Linked DNA regions of Homo sapiens: all the other regions are linked to region 4. The links are contacts of gene promoters, found by promoter capture Hi-C in blood cells and fetal thymus (Javierre and others, 2016). All regions are on one chromosome and are shown on one strand. Each heading gives the region's core, a stretch centred on a gene start or on the middle of the fragment in contact. The rest is flanking DNA. Distances are from core to core; before and after follow the strand shown.

The links. The method cuts DNA at HindIII sites, captures the fragments that hold promoters and counts their contacts. A CHiCAGO score of 5 or more calls a contact.
Region 1: a contact is called between the fragment with the promoter of CLEC2B here and the fragment with the promoter of KLRB1 in region 4, in 4 of 17 cell types (naive B cells, naive CD4 T cells, non-activated CD4 T cells and 1 more). The highest score is 6.3, in naive B cells.
Region 2: a fragment that was not itself captured here is called in contact with the fragment with the promoter of KLRB1 in region 4 in 3 of 17 cell types (total CD4 T cells, naive B cells and naive CD4 T cells); the score reaches 5.3 in total CD4 T cells.
Region 3: a contact is called between a fragment that was not itself captured here and the fragment with the promoter of KLRB1 in region 4, in 7 of 17 cell types (M0 macrophages, M1 macrophages, naive B cells and 4 more). The highest score is 8.1, in M0 macrophages.
Region 5: a fragment that was not itself captured here is called in contact with the fragment with the promoter of KLRB1 in region 4 in 7 of 17 cell types (M0 macrophages, M2 macrophages, M1 macrophages and 4 more); the score reaches 7.5 in M0 macrophages.

The regions. Positions count from the first base shown.
Region 1 is chr12:9,868,104-9,870,803 of GRCh38, reverse strand. It overlaps CLEC2B (C-type lectin domain family 2 member B), which reads left to right and starts at 1,450. Exons shown (of 5, transcript NM_005127.3): 1 at 1,450-1,599. The HindIII fragment of the contact is 5,556 bases long and covers 1,336-2,700 here.
Region 2 is chr12:9,907,393-9,910,092 of GRCh38, reverse strand. It overlaps a transcript of CLEC2A not described here. Among named protein-coding and RNA genes, the nearest start is that of CLEC2A, 24 kb to the left of the region's middle. The HindIII fragment of the contact is 710 bases long and covers 1,008-1,717 here.
Region 3 is chr12:9,326,039-9,328,868 of GRCh38, reverse strand. No RefSeq gene overlaps it. Among named protein-coding and RNA genes, the nearest start is that of LINC02367, 40 kb to the left of the region's middle. The HindIII fragment of the contact is 202 bases long and covers 1,351-1,552 here.
Region 4 is chr12:9,606,588-9,609,287 of GRCh38, reverse strand. It overlaps KLRB1 (killer cell lectin like receptor B1), which reads left to right and starts at 1,372. Exons shown (of 6, transcript NM_002258.3): 1 at 1,372-1,533. The coding sequence starts at 1,449. The HindIII fragment of the contact is 4,730 bases long and covers 1,371-2,700 here.
Region 5 is chr12:9,342,012-9,344,711 of GRCh38, reverse strand. It overlaps LOC105369649 (a long non-coding RNA gene), which reads left to right. Exons shown (of 3, transcript XR_007063205.1): 2 at 1,910-2,033. Among named protein-coding and RNA genes, the nearest start is that of LINC02367, 24 kb to the left of the region's middle. The HindIII fragment of the contact is 2,511 bases long and covers 2-2,512 here.

The sequences.
Region 1 (2,700 bases), core at 201-2,700, 260 kb before region 4:
TGATATCCAAGAAGTGGAAAAAGCTCAATGTCATAATGGATACATTTTATTATAAAATAGATAAAAATATTTTATGTCTGTACAATGAAATACTACTCAGTAATAAAAAGAAATTAACTGCTGATCTGTGCAAAAACATGGATAAAACTCAAAAACATTATGCTCAGTGAAAGACATCAGACTTACAAGAATTGCCAACTGTATCATTCTGCTTAACAGGAATTTCTAAAACCAGCAAAGCTCATGTTTATTGACAGTAAGTTGGCTGCTGCCTGGCTTCAGGGGTGAGGATGAACTGCAAAGCAACAGCGGGGAACATTTCCCTGTGTTGAAAATGTTTTATATCTTAACTGTTGTATCTTGACTGTTTTCCTTTTTGGAACAAAACTAAATTTCACTCAACCATACTTGAGTAATCTCTATATTTTTCTATACATGCTTTTCTAATAGTTCTTTGGATACAATCTTTTGTTAACAACAAAGGTAGAATATATTCATTTCCTCATGAATTTTCTGTCTTTTTTTTCTGTCCAAAAATGAAAAGAGCAATTTTGTTATCTGTCCTTTCCTTCTGCCCAGAAATGATTAAACCTGTATTTCTTATTCTCTTCATATTTTCTTTGTTTTAATTCCTTTGTACTACAGTTTCTTCTCTATTCTCATTTGCTTTTCCTCTTCAAGTTTCTCTCTCAGAACAAATGCAGTGTTAATCCCGAAGCCGCTTGCGGGACACTGGCTTCTTCTCCTCAGTTTCCTCCCTAATATATTTGTTGAGGGGTAATACAAAATCACTGGGAAACTGATTAGAGCAGATTTGAAGACAAAATTGTGGCCTGGTAACTTAGCAAAAGCATAATGGTGTCATCTTGTATGCTGATGATAACGTTCTGGGCACTTTGTTACTTTCGTTTTCTTTTTTCCCTCTGTGTGTCTTTGTGTGTGTTTGTGTGTGTGCTCACACCCACACGTGTGACTTTGCACGCATTTGTCTTTGAGAGAGAGATAATAGTTTTTGTTTTTCTTTCAGTAGCCAAAGTTTAAACCATTGCTTTTTCTTTGATTCTATCGCTTTTAAGGTGATCTTTCTTAACACAGGATAAGAAAGCAGTAATGTCCTAAAGAATGCTGTTGAATTAATTAGTATCAGCCTCTCCTACAGTTCTGGAAGGATACGTGGTTAAGTACCACTCCTGGATGAATCAGAAAAACAGCCACTTGAGCAATTTCGTGTTCTGTGGTTCAGATGAGAATCCCAGTTGAGAAAGTAAGAAAATATGTGTTTATTCTTCAGCTTTAAATTGTTATATCACAAACTTCCTTCCTCCTTGGCAAGCTTTCTTTTTTGACGAGAAGAAAATTGTAATAAACAACAGTATGACTAATAGATAGTCACATGGTTACTTCCAGTTTGCAAAATGCTATTTATACTTTGAGTTACTCTTCAAAAGTGGTATACCTCTAGTTTGGAGCTGTGCTGTAAAAACAAGAGTAACATTTTTATATTAAAGTTAAATAAAGTTACAACTTTGAAGAGAGTTTCTGCAAGACATGACACAAAGCTGCTAGCAGAAAATCAAAACGCTGATTAAAAGAAGCACGGTAAGAACATTTTTGTTTGTTTAGAATGACCGTTATTTATTGAAATTGTGATGCAGAATGTTAAAGCCTTCGAGAAAAGAATTAAATTTTGTGGTTTCTTTTGTGAAACTAGAAAATTCCTTCTTATAACAAGATTGAGATTTGCATATGACTGTTTTGTCCTAATAAATTCAGACTTACTTTACATTATTTGAATTACAATGGAGAAGGATTAACCATGACTTAAAACTGCTCAAGATTTAGTTTCATTTTTACTAAGTATTTTATAAAACAAATACTTGAGAAGATGATAGATATGATCCAGATACTCATACAGTTCTCAGAATGCATACATAATATGATAAATTTAGCCAATAGTTCTAATATTTTTAAAGATTGCTTTATTGGATGGTGTAAAGATACTCCGGGCTTTAGGAGTACTTAACGGAAAGAATATATCCCTTTCCTACTCTTACTAAGGAATTGCTAGTACTCCGATATCCATGGAGATGTCTTTACCAACCCTAAGAAGGATAAGGAAAGAAAATGTTCTAAAAAATACACTATGAAACAACCTGGTAACATTGGATTTATTAAATAGCAAGTTCGGAATATATAAGATCCAAGCTACATCTTTGAGATTTCAACAGGGTTTATTTATGTCAAAATATTTGAAAGAGAAAAGGCTGAAACTAAATGCATTCAATACAACGATCTATGATTTAGAGATTTAGGGACTGTGATGAGCTTTAAGCATTTCCCGTTTAACTAAATGTCAACCTACCAGCGTATGCTACGGTCAAAAAAATTATTGCTGTGGTACAATAGAATGCACACTTTATCCTTCCTCCCGTATTTTAACCGGTTTTATAATTCTGCCTAAAGTTAGATAAAACAGGTTTGCGGGGAATGAGATCAATATTTGATGGTAGCATAAAATATCATTTTAATCAAAAGTTTTAAGAAGGCCTTCCAGCCACTAGTAAAACCAGTGTTATTTTCTACTTTCAATCAATTGTATAAATTTATACATTTGTATATAAATACATTATATAATACAATATTATATATCATATTACATATGAATATATTTTAAAAGTTACTGAATAATATATTCAGTAT
Region 2 (2,700 bases), core at 113-2,612, 300 kb before region 4:
CTTTTAATGGAACATATTAATGACAAAAGCCCTGTGTCTCTGGAGGATATAGAGTATGCTCTTTGTTGGAGGCAAGGACCTGTCCTCCTTTACCCTCTAAAAATCAGAGGGAGCAAGCTAGAATCTTACTGCTCTGAAAGAGAAAAGGTCCCTATTCCTAGACAGCCCATCAACACATGGGATCCCCTAGACCATCTTCCTCCACTCAATACCCCCAATTCTCCCCCTCAAGCAGCTGTTGCCACCTCAGACCCCACTCCAGATCCCTCCCCTGCTCACATTGTTCCCCACCCCTTACAACCCCAATTCTTGGGAATTATCATCCCATGAGCCAGCTCCTTACCAGCCTAAATACTCTTCTCTAAAAGGACTCCAACGTGAGGTAGAGCAATGTAAAAAGGATATTCAAAACTTCCCTTTATCCCCTATCCCTGGGGAATCAGCTCTGACTCTCTGCCCCTTAAAAGAGGTGCTGCAGGGAGGGGGTGCCATCAGCTTCATAAATGCTCCTCTAACCAGTTCAGAAGTTCCAGGCTTTAAAAAAGAACTCAAGCCGCTGTGAGATGACCCTCATCGAGTGGCAGATCAGGTCGGTGATCAATTTCTAGGACCCCAGTTATATACTTGGGCTGAGTTAATGCCCATCCTGGGCATCCTGTTTTCAGGGAGAGAAAGGGGCATGATCCTTAGGGCCACTATGGTAGTTTGAGAACATGAACACCCCCCAGTTAAAACGTTTCTACAGCAGACGAGGAATTCCGTGCCCAAGATCCCTGGTGGGACAATAACAACATAGCTCACTGGAAAAACCTGCAAGACCTGAGGGAGATGATGATAAAAAGAACTCAAGAATAAGTACCCTGGACTCAGACTCTGTCTCAGACACTCAGCACACAACAGGGGAAGGATGAAGAGCCTATAGAATTCTTAAACAGATTAAAGGAGCAAATGAAAAAATAAGCAGGCCTAGATTTATAAGATCCCCTAGGACAAGGAATGTTAAAGCTTCATTTTTTTACTAATAGTTGGGCAGACATTTCCAAGAAATTACAAAAGATAGAGGATTGGAAAGATCATCCTCTAAGTGAATTTCTCAGAGAAACTCAAAAGGTATATGTGAGAAGATACGAAGAAAAGCAAAAAGTGAAAGCAAAATTCATGCTATCCACCTATCAACAGGGGGCTCCAAATCAATACATTTCTAAACAAAGCCCCCAGGGGGCCAAAATCTATAAATGACCCAAACCTCCATTTAGAGGCTTCAAGCCCCCTATTAAAGGATCCGGGACCTCATTTGCCAGACCCTATAAAGAACACAGGGGGGCCAAGCCAAAGAATCCCAAAACAGAGAAAAGACAGAATAGATGTTTTAAATGTGGAAGAACAGGTCTCTTTAAGAGGGAATGTCCCGCATGGGAAAAATAAAAAGAAGTCCTTCCACTCATGACTTTTGAGGAAGAATAGGGGGGGCCAGGGGCTCTGTCTCTTTTATCTCAAGTCCCACCAAGAGCCCTTGATAAACTTAGAGGTGGGACCCAAATATGAACTCATAACGTTTTTAGTAGATTCAGGAGCAGCCCGCTCCTCTGTTTCCCTCCATCTGATATCACCTGCTCCTCAGAACTTTCTGTCTCAGGGGTAAAGGGAGAAGGATTTAAAGCTAAAATCTTAGAAGAAACAGAAGTCAGTATAAAAACCGATCAACTCATATGAAGCTTCTATTAATCCTGGAAGCAGAAATTAACCTGTTAGGAAGGGACTTAATGCTAGAACTAAGCATCAGCTTACATGTTGGCCCAGAGGGATTCCTCACCTCACTAAACCTACTTACCAGTGTGGGTGAAAGACACATCCATCCTGATGTCTGGTCAAGAGAAGAAAATCAAGGAAGACCTCAAGTCCTTCCAAAACACATAAAGCTGAAAACTGCTGGGGAGGTAGTAAGAAGAAAACAATATCCCATTCCCCTAGAAGGCAGAATAAGCTTGAGGCCCGTAATTTAAAGCGTCATTCAAGACGGGCTTCTTGAACCCTGCATGTCCTCTTTTAACACCCCAATACTGCCTGTAAAGAAATCAGACAGGTCATACCGACTAGCACAAGACCTCAGAGCTGTCAACCAATTAGTCCAGATGACTTATCCTTTTGTCCCTAACCCTTACACCATCCTCAGCAAAATCCCACGTGACCATCAATGGTTTACAGTAATACACTTAAAAGATACCTTTTGGGCCTGTCCTTTGGCTGAGGACAGTCGGGACATATTTGCTTTCGAATGGGAAGATCCTTATTCTGGACAGAAACAACAGTACTGATGGATAGTTTTGCCCCAAGGGTTCACAGATTCCCCTAGCCTTTTTGGCCAAATTTAGAACAGGTTTCAGAATAAATTCATACCCCAAAACACATATGTCTGCTCCAATATGTGGATGATCTTCTCATATCTGGTGAAAATGTAGAGAAAGTAGCTGCCTTCTCTACACACCTTCTTAACCATTTACAAGGGGAAGGACTATGAGTTTCAAAAGGAAAACTCAAGTTTGTAGAACGTGAAGTTACATATTTAGGGCACTTAATAAGTAAAGGCAAATGAAGGATGGGACCCGAACAAGTAGAAGGAATCAGATCCTTACCTTTGCCTCAAACTAAGCAGAAGCTCCAAAAATGTTTAGGATTAGTTGGATATTGCTGCTTATGGAT
Region 3 (2,830 bases), core at 202-2,701, 280 kb after region 4:
AGGTCAATAGGACACAATGCCTGCCCTCAAGGAGCTTGCCTGTCTAATAGAGAGTAATATCACAGCCAGAAGGACTCTATGAAAGAATCCAGCCAGGTCATGCCACTCTTCTGCTCAATACTCTGCGATGGCTCCCATGCTCCTCAGAGTAAAGTTCAAGGTCCTTCCCACAGCCCCATAGGACCTGGCCACCCCATAGTTCTTGTCCACCCCCCGTCCTCTCCCCTGCAGCCGCACCGCCCTCATTTTCAAACACAGCAGCCAAGTGCGCGCCTGCCTCCAGAACCTTGCACTGTACTTGTCTTTTTTTGTCTAGATGCTCTTCCCCCAAACACCTACCCTCCCTTCCTTGCAAGCCTTTCCTCGGAAGACACCTTCTCAGGGAGGCTTTGTCAAGCCCCACCCCATCTAAAATTTCAACACTCCCCAGCACTTCATATCCTCTTCCTGATTTATTTCTTCTTCTCAGGACATCTTCCTCTCTAATATTCTCTACCCTACTTACTAATCTTGTTTAATTGCCATCTCTCCCACCAGCATGTAGGCCTCTGAGAGCAGTGGGGAGCTGTGGATTATTTTGATGTGGTTTTGTTTGTTGTACCTAGAACACTTAGATTAGTGACTAATACAGTATATAGAAACTGGGAAAAGGAAGGAAGGGAAGGGAAGGGGAGGGAAGGGAAGGGAAGAGGAGGGGAGGGCATGTTCTCCTTACAACTCGATCCGACTCCCCTAGAAGAGGGGGCAGGGAAGGAGGGCAAAGCTAGGAGAGTTGAAGAATATTAAGAAGAGAATAAGGTAGCCAGAGTTAGCAAATAAAAATATAAAATGCCTAGTTAATTCTGAATTCCAGATAAAGAACAAATAATTTTTTAGCATAAGTATGTCCCAAACTAAGAATGGCACAAGACATATTTATGCTAAAGAAATTACGTATTCTCTAATAATAAATTATTTTCTCCAATGCACATTGATTTTGCATACTGTATTTTATCTGGCAACCCTAAAATAGAAGGACTACCCCCGTACTGCTTCACTCCAGCTGGACTCTTATCCTCTGTGACTACTCTCCTACCTTAGGAAAGATCCAAGTGGCCCCTTTCCTCCTCATCGCCATCCCTTGCCCTGCACATCTCGTTTTCCTGTGTCGCAGCAAGTCCAGCGCCTCCAAGACTTGGCTCTTCTCTCCCTCCTCAAACCCTTAAAAGAAAGGGCCAAGTCTGAACTCTTTGCCTTTGAGTCGTGGAGACACCAAAGATATTTAGGTTATAAGTCAAAGGGGAGAGGGAAGTCACATAGGTCCCACGGGCCTCAGACCTGCCACGTGTCCTCTCCCTAAGTCTCAAAGCTTAAGAAGACAAACCTTATGCGGCAGGAAGTGTTGGTTATAGCTGTTTTGCCACTCCTTCTGGTTATGTTATTTCTGTTCTTCTGATACTACAGCCCCCCTAGGTCATGAATTTCTCTGTCCATGCTAAGTTTAATATCTCTGCTCAAACCTTGTTAAACTGCCTCCAGAATAGGAAACTCTTCTTCCTGGCCTCATAAAGCTTGGAGCCCTCTCCAATGTATGTTACAAAATTTCTCTCTAGGCTTCTCAGAGGATTATAGGCTCCGCCTTAAAAAAGGCAAACTCTGGACACTCTGTGGAGTAGAATGGCCAAAGTTTAGAGTCAGGTGCACCCCCGCCCCCAGAAGGGTCACTGAACCTCGCAATTGTTCAGACTGTGTGGCGGGTTGTTGCTGGAACTCCCGGTCACCCCGATCAGTTTCCCTACATTGATCAATGGCTGAGTTTGGTCCGGAGCCCTCCTCCACGGCTCCGCTCATGCGCCATTCATAATTCTACCTCCAAGGTCCTTTTGAGCCAGACCTCACTTTCGCCTCGACCCTCAGCCGGCTCGGCTCCTCCTGTATTGCCTCCTTGTGAGGAAGAGGAAAGTTTCCTTCACCCAGTTCCACCGCCTTATAACCCTCCTGCTCCCTCAGAATGTTCTCTTGTCTCCTGCACTACCTCCCCTGTGGGCTCTCCACCTATTGCCTCCTGATCGCGGCCACGGCAGGAGGAGGTAGCCCCCCTCCTCCCGCTGAGGAGGCACAAGTCCCTCCGGGCGATAAGCACTCAGGCCCATTCTTAGTTTATGTCCGCTTCTCTACTTCTGACCTGTACAACTGGAAGACTCATAACCCCCCCTTTTCTGAAATGCCCCAGGTCTTGACCTCACTGATGGAGTCCATGCTCCGGACTCACCGGCCCACCTGGGAGGACTGTCAACAGCTCCTTTTAACCCTTTCCACCTCTGAAGAGAAGGAACGTACCCGAAGAGAGGCCAGAAAATATTTCCTTACATCAGACGGTAGACCAGAGGAGGAAGCTCATAACCTCCTAGAGGAGGTTTTCCCTCTACCCGGCCTAATTAGGATCCAAACTCCTCAGGCAGGAAGAGAGCTTTAGATGATTTTCACCAGTATCTCCTTGCGGGTATCAAAGGAGCTGCTCGAAAACCCATAAATTTGTCTAAGACATTTGAAGTTGTCCAGGGACCTGATGAGCCACCGGGGGCGTTTTTGGAACGCCTCCAGGAGGCCTACCGGAGTTACACCCCTTTTGACCCGGCGGCTCCCGAGAATAGCTGTGCTATTAATTTGGCATTTGTGGCTCAGGCAGGCCCTGATATTAAAAGAAAATTACAAAAACTGGAAGGATTTGCTGGAATGAACATTAGCCAACTTCTAGAGATAGCCCAGAAAGTTTTTGACAATCGAGAGTTTGAAAAGCGAAAACGGGCAGCTCAGGCAACTGAAAAGGCCGCCGATAAGGCATCCAAAA
Region 4 (2,700 bases), core at 123-2,622:
CACACCAGTTAGAATGACAGTCATTAAAAAGTCAGGAAAAAACAGGTGCTGGAGAGGATGTGGAGAAATAGGAACACTTTTACACTGTTGGTGGGACTCTAAACTAGTTCAACCATTGTGGAAGACAGTGTGGCGATTCCTCGAGGGACTAGAACTAGAATTTGACCCAGCCATCTCATTACTGGGTATATACCCAAAGGATTATAAATCACGCTGCTATAAAGACACATGCACACATATGTTTATTGTGGCACTATTCACAATAGCAAAGACTCGTGAACCATCCCAAATGTCTATCAATGATAGACTGGATTAAGAATATATGGCACATATGCACCATGGAATAGTATGCAGCCATAAAAAAGGATGAGTTCATGTCCTTTGTAGGGACATGGATGAAGCTGGAAACCATCATTCTGAGCAAACTATTGCAAGGACAGAAAACCAAACACCGCATGTTCTCACTCATAGGTTGGAATTGAACAATGAGAATATTTGGACACAGGGAGGGGAACACCACACACCGGGGCCTGTCGTGGGGTGGGGGGAGGGGGGAGGGATAGCATTAGGAGATATACCTAATGTAAATGACAAGTTAACGGGTGCAGCACACCAACATGGCACATGTATACATATGTAACAAACCTGTACATTGTGAACTTAAAGTATAATAATAATAAAAAAAGGTAAAAAAAAAAAAGTAGACACATACTATAATCACCTTGAAAAAAAAAGAAAGTCTTTCAAAGAGATAAAAAATTCCATATACTCCACTTCCTACAATTCTGGCAGTTTCCAAATACTTTTACTTATGTGAAAATGCTATCATATCCAAGAGTGCCTTTAGAGCTAAGCTAACAGTAGGCTACTGATCTTTAGCACATTGCTTTTTCTGTTGTGTTATTCAGGGGGCTTTCTCACATTTATGTTTCCATTTTTCACATTTCACAACTTTCTTTGGAGCACAGATATTTCAGGAAGATTTTAGAGCCTTTGAATAGCATTATGGACTTTTTTGCATTAATTTTTACTTTTACAAAATTGTGCTAAATATTATTTCTGTTAATTAGTGAGTTTTGTTGGGGGCCCCTTAAATTGGAACCCCAGGCTATGCCTCATTTGCTTCACTCTGGTCCTGGCCCTGAGAGAGGAACACAAAAGGGATGGTTAGAAAAACAAGAACAAATGAGCCTCCCAGAATTTTCTCAAACAACAGGCCAGTTAATTAAGGAAAGTAGATATTACATAGCTAGGTATAATGAACATGCAGTCAGTGGATTGTCTCAGTAATTTATGGAGATAACCACCAACAAAAAGTGTATGTGGGTGGGGACAAAAGAGAGACAACAAAGTACTGCAGGCAGAAAGCTTCCTTTTGCTGATTTTGCCTCACAGAATTGAGAGTTTGTTCTTACACACAAGTTTAATGCCACCTTCCTCTGTCTGCCATGGACCAACAAGCAATATATGCTGAGTTAAACTTACCCACAGACTCAGGCCCAGAAAGTTCTTCACCTTCATCTCTTCCTCGGGGTAAGTGGCTTTAATTTTCCTTTCGGCATTTGTATGTCTTCCAGAATTAGATCTTCCTGTTACATTTATGGCTTTAAATCATTGCTTTAAAGATGAGCAGTAGTTTTATATTAATGTTTAACGGGTGTTGCATGGCTTGCCTGTAGATAATCACAACTTTGGGAAAAAAAATTTAAACCTCATACATTTATTTTTTTCAATCAAGTTAGCATGAAAAGCAAACATCACTTGTCTTACTGAGCCTTGGTTAAAAGACTCTGAACACTTTAGGCTACCCTGGGCACACTGCCTATTGGTTACCCCTGCTCTACAGGGATGGAAAGAAGGAAGAAAGAAAGAAAGAAAGAAAAGAAAGAAAGAAAGAAAGAAAGAAAGAAAGAAAGAAAGAAAGAAAGAAAGGAAGAAAGAAAGAAAGAAAGGAAAGAAAGAGAAAGAAAAGAAGAAAGAAAGAAAGGAGAGAAAGAAAAAGAAAGAGAGAGAAAGGAAAGGAAAGAAAGAAAAAGAGAAGGAGGAAGGAAGGAAGGATGGAAGGAAGGAAGGAAAAATATTTTACATGTATGAACTAAGGAATATTTAAGACACATTGCAAACTTGCTGTAATAACAACCTACGTTATTCCAAATTCCTCTACAAAATATCAATACTATGATTAAGTCCCAGTGCATTTTCATCCATAATATTCCTTTCAGAATACAACGTGTAGGCCAGTTGCAGTGGCTCATGCCTGTAATCCCAACACTTTGGTAGGCTAAGGTGATTTGCTTGAGTCCAGGAGTTTAAGGCCAGCCTGGGCAATGTGGCAAAACCTCATCTCTACAAACAATACAAAAAAATAGCCAAGTGTGGGGCACGTGCCTGTGGTCCTAGCTACTCGGGAGGCTGAGGTGAGAGGATTGCTTGAGCCCAAGAGATCAAGGCTGCAGTGAGCTGTAATTGTGCCACTGTACTCCAGCCTGGGTGACACAGCAAGACTATCTCAAAAAAAAAAAAAAAATATATATATATATATATATATATATACTTTTTATACATATATTTTATATATTTTATATATATATATATACTTTTTATACATATATTTTATATATTTTATATATATATATATAAAGTGTAGGCTTAATGAGTAACATACTTCACTCTCTCAAGAGAGGGGAACACTTTCTGGAA
Region 5 (2,700 bases), core at 8-2,507, 260 kb after region 4:
TTAGTCTCTGCCAAGTGGCTAAAGCAGGAAAATCCAAGGTTACTCAGATTCTCTGTGATTTTGTTTTACCATTTAGGAAATAAACCCTACTACTGTGCTGTACACTATTTAGAAATCCACATAAGAAAGGGTTCTTCAATGTTTGGGGGGTCCAAGATAAAAACTATCTCACTTTGAGAAATTAGAAAATCATTCCTGTGATTCTACTCTGTTAAACCTTGTCACCCAAAATCCATTTAGAATGAAAGGCAGCACAAGGCAGCACCACGTTATTTTCTTACAGTCGCAATTTAGATTTAAAATTTTGGATTCCAAGAATTATAGGAGTTTTATGCCAGGAATCAAGATGAAGACCAGATATATATTTCATAATATCACAGTTTCTTGAGGTTCTTTAAATCCCAAACACACACTTCTCCATTGCCTCTGTCCCCACCCCTACCTGCCAGTTCTTACTCTTAAATGCCATCTACTAGACTGCAGCCTAAATTACACCTCAAACAAAACTATATCACAAGAAGCAGTGTCTGGGGAAGTCACTGCATGAACCTATTTGCAACTGAGGAACCCATACAAAGCCTTGGCACCCTGAAAGTACTCAGAAACCAAACCAGCTGATCATTAACAATATACAGCAGCCATATCCCTAGGGGAAAAAAGAATAAAAATTCAAGAAGCACCATCCAAACAATAGCAAATTCTGTCCAACCTCAGGATTTCTGGCCTCTCTAGTGTGAGCAGCTGCTCTGTCCTCAAAATCTCATTGGCCCCCTACTGCCTCCTCCTAAAGGATGCTCTCAAGTACCTCCCCAACATGTAGGGCCAGGTCTGAAAGGGCCTTGATCCTCGGCTGCTGGTGACTTTTCAAAGCAACTGTCTTTCCCTCCTTACCTTGCCCGTGGTCCGTTGTGCCCTTTCTTTGCTCCTTCTGCCTAATGCAGTAGTCACAAGACAAGGGAGCTTTCTGTCAACTGGCAGGACTTGAGCACAAGCAGCTGTGTGCCGTGGGGAGGAAATCTTGTGTTATTACACACCCAGGACCTCTGAGTCCACACAGCTTATCGTATACCTTATCCACACCTCTGGCTCCACTGGTTTTTGTTTTTGTTTAGAACATTTCCTTCTCCCTAAATCTGCCTTGGATCCTAGGCCCTTTTTTGCAGTAGTGCCTGATCTCCTGACTCAAAAACCCATTTTATGCAAGGGAAATGGTTGCAGATTTAGGAAACCGCTTTAAAAAACAGTTAACTAAAAATTTCAAGGTGCCTAAAAATCTAAAATAAAATCAAATATTTTTGTCCAGCAATCTATACCAAGAGTGTGCTAGATGCACAGTGAAAAGGATAGATGTGATACCAGCTCTAGTAGAGCCTGGACTCCGGTGAACACAGGCACTAAACAAATAGCTACAAGAGTGATGATTGTTACAAAAAAAAAAGAGGTGCAAGGTACTATAGGTGCCTATGGCAGGATTTGACCTAATCTGAGGGATTTGGGGAGTTTTTATCTCTGGTACTGACTGAATGACACTGAGCAAACAATTTAACCCTCTCTATAATTAATAGTATTTTTTCTGACCCTCCAAGCCCTCCCTGCTCCAGTCAGAGCTTCTGGGTCAATCAACTGTGATGACAAGGGAGGACACTGTCAACAGCAGGAAGGCTAGCTGCAGAGAGCAAACACATAGAGCCAGTGACAGTGGAGGCATAGAATAGGCCCCAGAGCACCAAGGCCACTGGAGGTAGAAAATGGGGGAAAGGCTCGTGGGCAAACAGTAAACTGCATGGGAGACATCCCACCTGTCCTATTCATTGTTATAAACCTGGCACTTAGCCTAGTGATTGTCAAATATTGATGGAATGCTTACTTACTCCTGTCAATTTCCATCCACAACTGCTTGACTCTGAAGGTGAGTGGTGAGCCCTCTTGGGAATGTTGGCAGGAGAAGATGACTCCACACATGGGCTGAACTGCAAATGGAGTGCATCAGATGACCACCACCTCCCTAGAGCAGATCACCCGTGGGCCAGCAGGTGTGTGCTCATCTATCTATCCCTTTCTACAAGAGTGTTCTCTAGCCCTGCCAAGCAACTGGCCCTGTTCACAATGCTGTCAGGTTATAACAAAATACGTGATAGCTCCATCTACACAGAAAGACTCATCTCAGATGAAAGTTTTTGTCAGGGGAGCGGTGAGAACAGCAGATTTGGGGATGTCCTGAGTAAAGCAATGGGGCAAGCTAAAACTGGGCTATGACCAGATGGTGAAATGGGTTGAAAAGGAGCTTATAGGTTAATCTGACAGACTTGGTTATGCATCTGGCAGAGGAAAAAGAGAGAAGTTAAAAATTTAGGAGAGAGATGATAACTGACAGAGCGTGGTCTTGAAGGTGGCAGGAGCTGAGGAAGGGAAATTCAGGTGAGCAGCTTTGTCTTGAAAAGAGGAGGAACACCACATGCAGGGCAGCAAGAGAAAGACTGGGGATGGGTAAGGCTAGGGATGGCTTCAAGCTTCCTAATGACATGTATGGCAGAGGTGTCAGCTGAGACCGAGGGTGCCGGGTGGTAAGCTTGAGTAAAGGAGTGGAGGTTTGAGTTAAAATGAATAAGAGTGAAACCCATCAAGGAATATTTAAAAAACAAAGTTTGTTCTTTTAGATATTGAGTGAAGCAAACCATTTACTACACATACAACCCCTAA